Linked DNA regions of Homo sapiens: all the other regions are linked to region 2. Evidence: promoter capture Hi-C in 16 types of primary human blood cells and fetal thymus (Javierre and others, 2016). All regions are on one chromosome and are shown on one strand. The core of a region is centred on a gene start or on the middle of the fragment in contact, and the rest is flanking DNA. Distances in the headings are between cores, read along the strand shown.

Region 1 (3,178 bases), core at 238-2,737, 200 kb before region 2:
AAATGAGGAATGGAATAGTCACATAGTTTCAAAACACCTCCCCATAAAATACTTGTCATAAAGGGTTGAGAAGAGTAATTACGTCAAGGAGAAGCCTGTCAAGATACCACCTTAATCAAGTAATCCATGTGAACATCATCAGCTATGGGACAAATTCAAACTGTGAGTTACATGACAGGATGCTGTAAGAAGAACACAGCATTGATTCTATGAGTCCTTTTAAATGTGTTTAACCTGAATACCATCAAAGGAACCATCAGACAACTCCACATTCAGAGGCATTCTACAAAATATACTGGCCTGCAATCTTCAAAAGTTTTAAGGCTGTGACAGTCAAGGAAAGATTGAGGAATTGTTCCAAATGAAAGGAGACTGCAAAGACCTAACAACCAAATGCAATGTGCGGCAAATCTCACACCTTGAATGGAGCTGAAGAGTAAGTGGTGGTCATGAATCGGTGTGTTAATTTTTTCCCTTTGATGGTTATATTGTGGTTTTACACCAGAATGTTCTTTTTGTTAGAAACAGACTATAGTATTGGTGAAAGGGCTACAGGTGACAGCATTGGATCAGCAGTTAATTCTCAAATGACTCAGGGGAAAAAGAGGCTTTTTAAAATCATACAGATTCAAACTCTGTAAGTTCGAGATTGTTTCCAAAAACAAAAGAAAATATAAACAACAAACACAAAACTATTGCTCAGGCAGTACCCCAGGTCAATTACATAGAAATCTCCAGGGATTTTCAGAAGTCCCTCCAAGTGGTTCTAACATGTAGCTAGGGTTGAGAAACTGCTCTAAATTCTTGTTTATACCTACACTTGAAAACATTATTACCTGATTTATGTCTCAAAAATCAAACCTCCCATCACCTGAGCCCAGGAAGCTGAGGCTGCAGTGAGTCATAATCATGCCACTGCACTCCAGTGTGGGCAACAGAGTGAGACCCTGTCTCCAAAACAAACAACAACAATAAAAAACCCTCCCATACAGCAACAAATGCAAATGCCAGGTGACTAGGTGGGTCCTACTTGATCATCAATTGCTTCTAAGTATGAAGGGCAAGAGAAATCATTCATATTTTCTCTCATCTCTAAATATACAGCCAGATGTAAAACTCATCACTTTCAAATTATTTAATTCATTCAACAAATTCAGTTAAGTATTTACTGAGTCTCTACTATGGCTTCCAAAGCAATACTATGGGCACCTCCAATTCCCTAACTTTGTGCCAAGAATAGTTTATAGGTGCACCCAGCTTCCAGGTACATATGGAATACAAAGCCCCTCAAACTCCTTACAGCCCAGCCTGGGACTGCTGCTAGCCCAGTCCAACCTCATCTACTTACCCCAGTGTGCTGTACTAATCTTTTCTCTGTGTGTCTTGACCTGAAAAGGTTACGAAGCATTGTCTAGGGGAGCTGGGGGTTTAATATTGCCTCTGCAGGGGACGAATGTGTGGGAGGTACTGTGCAGGCAGGCAAAAGATAAAGCAAGTGCAAACACCATAATCTAGAATAAATCCTGAATGGTAAAAAGCCAAACTACTCTTGAGAACCTCTCAGGTGAAGAGCGAATACAACAGTGTTTTCTTCTTAATTTTTTACAATAATAGTAGAGAAAAGTAGAAGTGACTTGTACCTGAATAGAAAATACCCAATATTCGGCCGGGCACAGTTGCTCATGCCTGTAATCCCAGCACTTTCGGAGGCTGAGGCGGGCAAATCATGAGGTCAGGAGTTTGAGATCAGCCTAGCCAACATGGCGAAACCCCATCTCTACTAAAAATACAAAAAAATTAGCTGGGCATGGTGGCGGGCTACCCAGCTGCTTGGGAGGCTGAGGCAGGAGAGTCATTTGAACCTGGGAGGCAGAAGTTGCAGTGAGCTGAGATCGCGCCACTGCACTCCAGCCTGGGAGACAAAGCGAGACTCGGTCTCAAAAAAAAGAAAGAAAAACAAAAAAAGAAAATACCCAATATTCACAATATTCACTTAAGCTGAGGCATAACAAGACTGCCCCGCATGCAAGTTCAGAACACCAAAAAGCAACGATGCTGAGATCCCTAGGAACCGGCTACATCCCAGAACTGAACCCTCCAATGGTCCGAGACCATGCAAAGGGAAAGCTAAGAGCTTGAAGCATCTGTAATTGGCATTCAAAGCCATTCATAGTACAGTTCTAGCTTTTACATTTTCCTCATTCTGCACGCCTGACAAAAACCATCCTCTTTAATGCCCATCACACCTTACCCTAGTGGCAAGTCCTAGCTCAATATCCACTTGCTTCAACAGCACCATCCCCAGTAACTCCAACTCTAGAGAAACTTGCCTTCTTCTGCAGACCCCACAACTATTGCCCCGTCTCTTGTTTGGCCCTCAAGGTCTCAAGGCAGATGACACCGGTACTGGCAGCATCAGAGCACCTGAAGTGACTTTCTGCGGCATGGCTGCTTTTACCAGGGTGGTAACAGGCACAGACCGGAAGGCACAGACTGACTTGGCTCTCTTCTACTAGGATGTCCAGGAACTGACTCATTCCTTTAACAAACATTTATTGTCTAATATGAGCCAGGCACTTTTCTTTTCTTTTTGAGATGGAGTCTTGCTCTGTCACCCACGCTGCAGTGCCGTGGCGCAATCTCAGCACACTGCAACCTCCGCCTCCCAGGTTCAAGTGATTCTCACGCCTCAGCCTCCTGAGTTGCTGAGATTACAGGCGCCTGCCACCACGCCCAGCTAACTTTTGTATTTTTAGTAGAGACGGGGTCTCACTATGTTGGCTGGCCTGGTCTTGAACTCCTGACCTCAAGTGATCCGCCCACCTTGGCCTCCCAAAGTGCTAGGATTACAGGCGTGAGCCACTGCGCCCAGCCGAGCCAGGCACTTTTTCTAAGCACTGGAGATCTGGCAGAAACAAAACCGAGCTTTGGCTCTCATGTGACTTACATCCCAGTGGGGGAGAAAGGCAACAAATGAACAAGATATACAACAAGATGCATGTATAAAATACACAGTTCAGGCAACAACAGTGCTCAGGAGAAGACAGTTCACCTGACAGAGAAGGAGAGAGGTGGGGAGAGGGCAACACCTTCCATATAATAGTTAGAAAAGGCCTCTGATACAGTTGCATGAGAATGGAGACTCACTGAGGTGAGGGATGGGGCCATGTGGGTATCT
Region 2 (2,832 bases), core at 284-2,783:
TTCACTGATTCTTGGCTTGTTTTATTCACTATGAAGAAATATCTTTGACCAATTTTGTATAATTTTGCTTAAATTATAATACAAATGACCAACTTGAAATTCACCATCCTCTCGTTCAATCTCTAGCACTGATGCTAAAAAGTAATAAAACAGCCAAAACACATGAGAAAGCACGAACTTAAAGTCCCAGGCTGGTAACCTGAATTCCAAAGAATTCAGAATAAGCTGGTCCTTAAGGCGCTTGACTAGAGGTGACCGTTACTGGACGTCTTTAACCACTACAGCGTGTCTCGCTGGATCGGATGTCCAGCCTCTACAGCCGAATAAACCGGTAGTCTGGAACTGAAGGGCACCGGACCACGGGAAGGTGTAAAAACACTCTCCGTGCCCCTCGTTTCCTTGTCCAGAGTCTGAGCCGCCTCCCCAAGTGGCCGCACACGCAGGGCCCTGGCGAGGGGTGTGGAACGCATTCACCTTGTCACGCAGGTCCTGCACACAGGCCGGGACGCTGCGCAGGGACCCGAGGATCCGAGGCCTGACGCCTCCCTCTGCCACCGCCAGCCAGGGGCGGACGCGCCTCCGCGGGCCGGGAAGGTGTCCCCGCGCCGAGGCCCCCCGGAGACGGGAAGCGAACTCGACGGCCGGGCCAGCCCACCCGGAAGCCCTCCCCCAGCTCACACCTGCTGGCGCGTGACGCCCGGAGCCGCGCGCGCGCCCGCCAGTGCCTGCCCGGCCGTTCGGGGCGCCCCGGCCCGCGCGCCGGACGTCGCCCCGAGTCCCTCCCCGCCCCTCGACTCAAATCTCGGCGGCGCCCGCTCCCGCGGAGCGCGCGCTCAGCGCCGCCGGCCGCACCAGCCCCGCGCGCGCTCACGCCCCCTCCCCGGCCCGCTCCCCGCCCCACGCGCGCTCCCTCGCGAGGACACGCACACGCCGCGCCTCCGCTCACCGCCCCGGGCCGCGCCGCGCGCCCCCGGGGGCGCCCTCGCCGACCCCCGGCCGCCCCGCTCCGTCCCGGCGGGGCGCGGGGGAGGGGAAGGACGGCGCGGCCGCCGCACCTCACTCACCGCCGAGCCGTGCCGGCTCCGAGTGCGCGGCGTTTCGCTGTGAGGCGAGGCGCGCAGTCTCCGCTTCTCCGCAGACTATGGAGGCGACGTCGTAGGGGGGACTGAGGGGCGCAGGGGTCACTCCCTCCCGTTTCGCCTTGCAGCAGCACGGGGACCCCAAAAACTAAAAACAAAATAAACAAACTTTCCCCTCCGCATCCCTCCCCCAAAACCACAACACAAACACTCGGGGGCCCGCCCAGAGCCCCACTCCATTGGCCGCAGGGAGGATGCTTCCGGCTCTCACTGGCTGGCTTTTGTGCCCGTCAAGCTGTCGTTCCGCCCCTCCAATTCCTCGTTGCTGCCTTCGCCCCTCATTGGTTAAGTGCTTCCCGTTTAACGAGCTAGGATTGGCTGAGCTGCCTGAGCCAATCATGTGGGGACACACCCCCTCAGCATCCCAGAGGCCGCTTCCTCGGTCGAGGACCCAGAGAGACTCAGGGGAAATTAGAGCATGATGGCGGCCGAGGTCGCTTGGCGCAACCATCGTCTTTTTTCTTTATTTTTAGCTCATTAGTGCCTTGCCTCGGCGCTGTTTCCCTAAGCTCCTCTCTCCAACCAGTACTGCCCTATAACGGAATCCATACGTGCCGGCTCCTTGATTTATCCCCTCCGAAGTGCTGAGTGTGGGCTGGTTGTGCGTCATTGGACTGTCAGGATGTCACTCCCCAGTCAAATCTTCAAGCTATTGGTGGAACAGCAAGAAAGCCCGTCCATCAACAAGGGCTAATACCATTGGTTTGACTCCACTGTGTTATTTCCTGGCACCTTATTGGGCAAATAGGTGCGTCAGATCCGGATTCGCTCTGCTACGGTTAATTGTTTACTGGGGATTTGGGGTCAACTCTGGTTGTTTGGCCAGTAGTTGACGATAATAGTGACTCCCTTGCCTATTTTGTGCCAAGTATTGGGCTGCTTTCTTCACAAACATTATCTGGTTAAACCTGGGAGTAATGCAGTATCCAGTTTTTATAGATGGGAAATTAAGGCTGGCGAGAGCTTAGAAAACTTGCCCAAGGTCATCCAGATACAGAGTCGTTGGTGGGCCTGGCATCTGGTCCTGGGTCAAACTGCAGAGACTTCACTCTTTTTATTATGCTTTAGTGCCTCCACCTTAGACGATGTACTTGTCAGCCAACCTAGCATCTTAAAAACGTTTCATTTGGAACTCAAAGTCTTCAGTCAGTTTCTAGAAGTGACTTTGTTGGGGACTTACTATGGAAAGGTTGTCATTGCCTCCACCACATCTTCCTCCCCAGGACCCATTCCTCTCCCCTTTAAGGTAGACATTTCTGCCTCCTTTTATGCGAAGCCTAGGCACCACTCGCAACCCCTGACCAACCATCTACAACTCATTCTTTGGAGAGAGTCCTCAAGAGCTGGAAAACTAGGAGAAATCAAGTCTAAAGAGAGAGACAGAATAAATCGTCTTAGAAATGAATAATTTATTGCATGCAAAGAGAACAGCCCTTCAGCTCCTGGAAATCTTCCAGGATAGTTGATGCTGAGCAAGACGTGTGCTCCTGGCTGGTGGCCACTGGGTTCTTTCCCTATAGCAGCATTCATCGAAGTGAATCCAACATTTCAGCCAGAGGAGGGCAGGACGCTTAGGACCCATTGCCAGTGAGCTTTTGCGACCGAAATGATCTCCAGGAGCACAACGCTGGACTCTAGCCCACATTCCATCTTGGGTAATTAACATTTTACCGTCCCAAATCCCCATCCCCTG
Region 3 (2,991 bases), core at 300-2,799, 220 kb before region 2:
TATAACTCGGGCTGGAGTGCAGTGATCTTGGCTTGCTGCAACTTCTACCTCCAGGGCTCAAGTGATCCTCCCACCTCAGCCTCTTGAGTAGCTGGGACTACAATGCATACACCACTATGCCCAACTAATTTTTTTTTCCTCCTCTAGAGACAGGGTTTTGCCATGTTGCCTACCTAGACTGGTCTCGAACTCCTGAACTCAAGCTATTTACCCACCTCGGCCTCCCAAAGTGCTGGGATTACAGGTGTGAGCCACCACACCCAGACCCTGGCTAAGATTATTTGTAAGAAAGCTTACATGGTACCAATTCTAACAAAGTAACTTCTCCTTTTACTCTACTCTCAAGGGAAACAGTTTTTCCAAATTCTCCACAATCTCTCCAGTTTGCTGAAGGTAGGATGAAGGTGGCGGCTGACAGTGACAAGAATTTAAACACAGCAAGGTCATGGAATACATTCCATTAATTAAGGCGGAGAGGGAAGCAATCAACATTCACTCCCCTAAATCAACAGTGGAATTAATTCCCTGAAGTGCTGCCTAGAAGAGTTAAATGTCCATGGCAAAGTCCTTGGGAAAGGTTTCAAGCCTCAGTCCAAGGGTCCCTTCCCTTCATCCACATTCTTAAAAGATCTACCCCTGAGTAAACTTTATTGAAGCCCCTGGCCTAGATGGGCTAAACATTCTTCCTAAGTGCTCCTGGAACACATCATCCATCTCTCTCTACCATGAAAATTCTCCATTCAAAAATCCATCTATCTCTACCACCGAAATTCTCCATCTACAAGTCCCATCTCTCTCTATCACAGAAATTCTCCATTTACAAGTCCTTCTCCCTCACCAGGCCATGACTTCCTGAGGGCAAGGACCCATCTTTCATCTTTTCTTTCTTCCTTAGGGCATGGCACAGAGTGGACTCTTACAAGAAACTCCAGGCCTAGAAAATCACAAACTCAGCTTGGTTCTGGTTTCTACAGCTACCTGGACTCAAAGACTTGCACCGCTCTCTGTGTAAATACTAGAAATGTTACAAATCTTTTTGCTTTTCTTTAAAAAAAAAAAAAAGTGTTTCTTCCCAATTCTTTAAAATAGAAATTTCAAAATGTAAATACTTTTTCTGTTTACTTTAAATCATTTGATTTTTTTAAACTTAATTTTAAAAATGGCCCGCACACAGCGTGGGAATGTCGGGGCAACCGTGAAACCGCACTCTGCCGGACCCTCTGGCTCTTCCCGTCGAACATACAGAGAAGGCTCTCTTAGATCTGTACCTCCCTCGCTGCATGCTGCCAGAAGATCACTACCCTCTCCATAAAAATCTACCTGGCAAATAGAGGCTGGAAGTCGTACAGAAATAATCATCAAGCCTGACAGTTCGGATGATTCTGAGGCCCAAATCCCTGCCTCCCAGGGTAACGTCAGGGCCAACTCTGGGGGTAGTACTGCTTTGACTGCTAAAATGATGCGGGGCCAGCATGTTGCTTGCTGAACTGGCTCCTTTATGAGAGAGATACATCATCAGAAATCAGGCGGCCCAATCTATGCCACTACTGGACATTAACATACTGTGGGTGACAGGAGAAAAGAGCAGGTGCCTGCAGCAATTTCCAGGTAACCCCATGTCTAACCTCAGCTAATCACAAGGCAGCACCAGGCCTCCCAGTAAGGGGAGGGGGAGTGGAGGTCAGAGGATCCAAAATCTGATGAGCAGAATAAATGTGTGACTTAAGAAAATAAAATTAGTCGGCCAGGCGCGATGGCTCACGCCTGTAATCCCAGCACTTTGGGAGGCCGAGGTGGGTAGATCACAGGGTCAGGAGATCGAGACCATCCTGGCCGACATTGTGAAACCTAGTCTCTACTAAAAATACAAAAATTAGCTGGGCGTGGTGGCATGCGCCTGTATTCCCAGCTACTCAGGAGGCTGAGGACGAGAATTGCTTGAACCTGGGAAGCGGGGGTTGCAGTGAGCCGAGATCGTGCCACTGCCCTCCAGCCTGGGCCACAGAGCAAGACTCTGTCTCAAAAAAAAAAGAAAAGAAAATTAGTCATTATCTAATATTCATGACCTATAACAACAGATGGATACATAACTGGTAAATGAATGAATGAAGATTATTTAATATTAATTTTCTATCTGTTACTGGAGGATTCTATAGCACAGGGCATTCGCAATCCCCTTTTATCTTATTATGAGAATAAACAAGAAGTTGGCAGAGACTGGAGAAATTCATCCCAACTGGTTTTTAGGACAGAAAGAGCTATGTTTCTGTAAGGCTGCCCTGCTATAAAGGTCAAGAATCTTCATTATAAGTTACCCAGGTCTACTACATACTTTTAACTCAATCCAGAAAAACAACAAGACATGACAGAGTGACCTGCAGGACTGAGGGCTGAACACCAGTTTGACTCACTTTAAAACATTCACAGCACTGTTTCAACTGAAGAAATTTGGTAGGTATCACGTATCATGTAAGATTCCTTGCAAAAGTTCCTCAGGGCACTTTCCCACCACATCAGAGACAGAATGGATTGTAAATGATAAAGTCATTATAAAATGGGAACACACCTCAACCACTTTCCTCCCAATACAGTGTGCTCTGGCCCAGGAGATTAGTCATTCAAACTCCAGGACATCATGTACAAATAGGTCAAAGTATAAAAAGAAAAAAACAAAACCTCCAGGAAACAGTCAGAAAACGCCCAAGACACCACCTTAGTCATAGCAAACTGTGTTTCAGCACCTGAATGAATTCTTACTCTATTTTTTAAATCACACCTTTCTGTGAATCCAAGAATGTTAAGCTTTTAAAGGCCAACCAGAATTGCCGGCACTAATTGGAGAGCAACACAGCTTTTCAGGCAGGATGTCTGATCCAAATTGACTCCCAAAGTCCAAACTTAAGACATCAGAATCAGTGTGCATCACCCATCATCATGGTCCAGAATGTTAGACGATAAAGGGCAAGAGAAGCTATCATTAAAAGTCTGAAT

The links. The method cuts DNA at HindIII sites, captures the fragments that hold promoters and counts their contacts. A CHiCAGO score of 5 or more calls a contact.
Region 1: a contact is called between a fragment that was not itself captured here and the fragment with the promoter of TNRC6B-DT in region 2, in 1 of 17 cell types (activated CD4 T cells). The highest score is 5.5, in activated CD4 T cells.
Region 3: a contact is called between a fragment that was not itself captured here and the fragment with the promoter of TNRC6B-DT in region 2, in 4 of 17 cell types (activated CD4 T cells, megakaryocytes, endothelial precursors and 1 more). The highest score is 7.0, in activated CD4 T cells.

Annotation. Positions count from the first base shown.
Region 1 is chr22:40,238,617-40,241,794 of GRCh38, reverse strand. All of the region lies in intron 1 of TNRC6B (trinucleotide repeat containing adaptor 6B), which reads right to left. Among named protein-coding and RNA genes, the nearest start is that of TNRC6B, 62 kb to the right of the region's middle. RefSeq lists an enhancer at 3,089-3,178. The HindIII fragment of the contact is 6,227 bases long and covers 1-3,178 here.
Region 2 is chr22:40,043,231-40,046,062 of GRCh38, reverse strand. It overlaps TNRC6B-DT (TNRC6B divergent transcript), which reads left to right and starts at 1,533. Exons shown (of 1, transcript NR_163486.1): 1 at 1,533-2,832. It overlaps FAM83F (family with sequence similarity 83 member F), which reads right to left. Exons shown (of 5, transcript NM_138435.4): 5 at 2,529-2,832. It also overlaps a transcript of TNRC6B not described here. RefSeq lists silencers at 480-549, 560-779 and enhancers at 1,080-1,199, 1,510-1,809, 1,891-2,538. The HindIII fragment of the contact is 12,286 bases long and covers 1-2,832 here.
Region 3 is chr22:40,258,273-40,261,263 of GRCh38, reverse strand. All of the region lies in intron 3 of TNRC6B (trinucleotide repeat containing adaptor 6B), which reads right to left. LOC124905121 (a long non-coding RNA gene) reads left to right here. Exons shown (of 2, transcript XR_007068107.1): 2 at 896-2,222. Among named protein-coding and RNA genes, the nearest start is that of TNRC6B, 82 kb to the right of the region's middle. The HindIII fragment of the contact is 2,510 bases long and covers 295-2,804 here.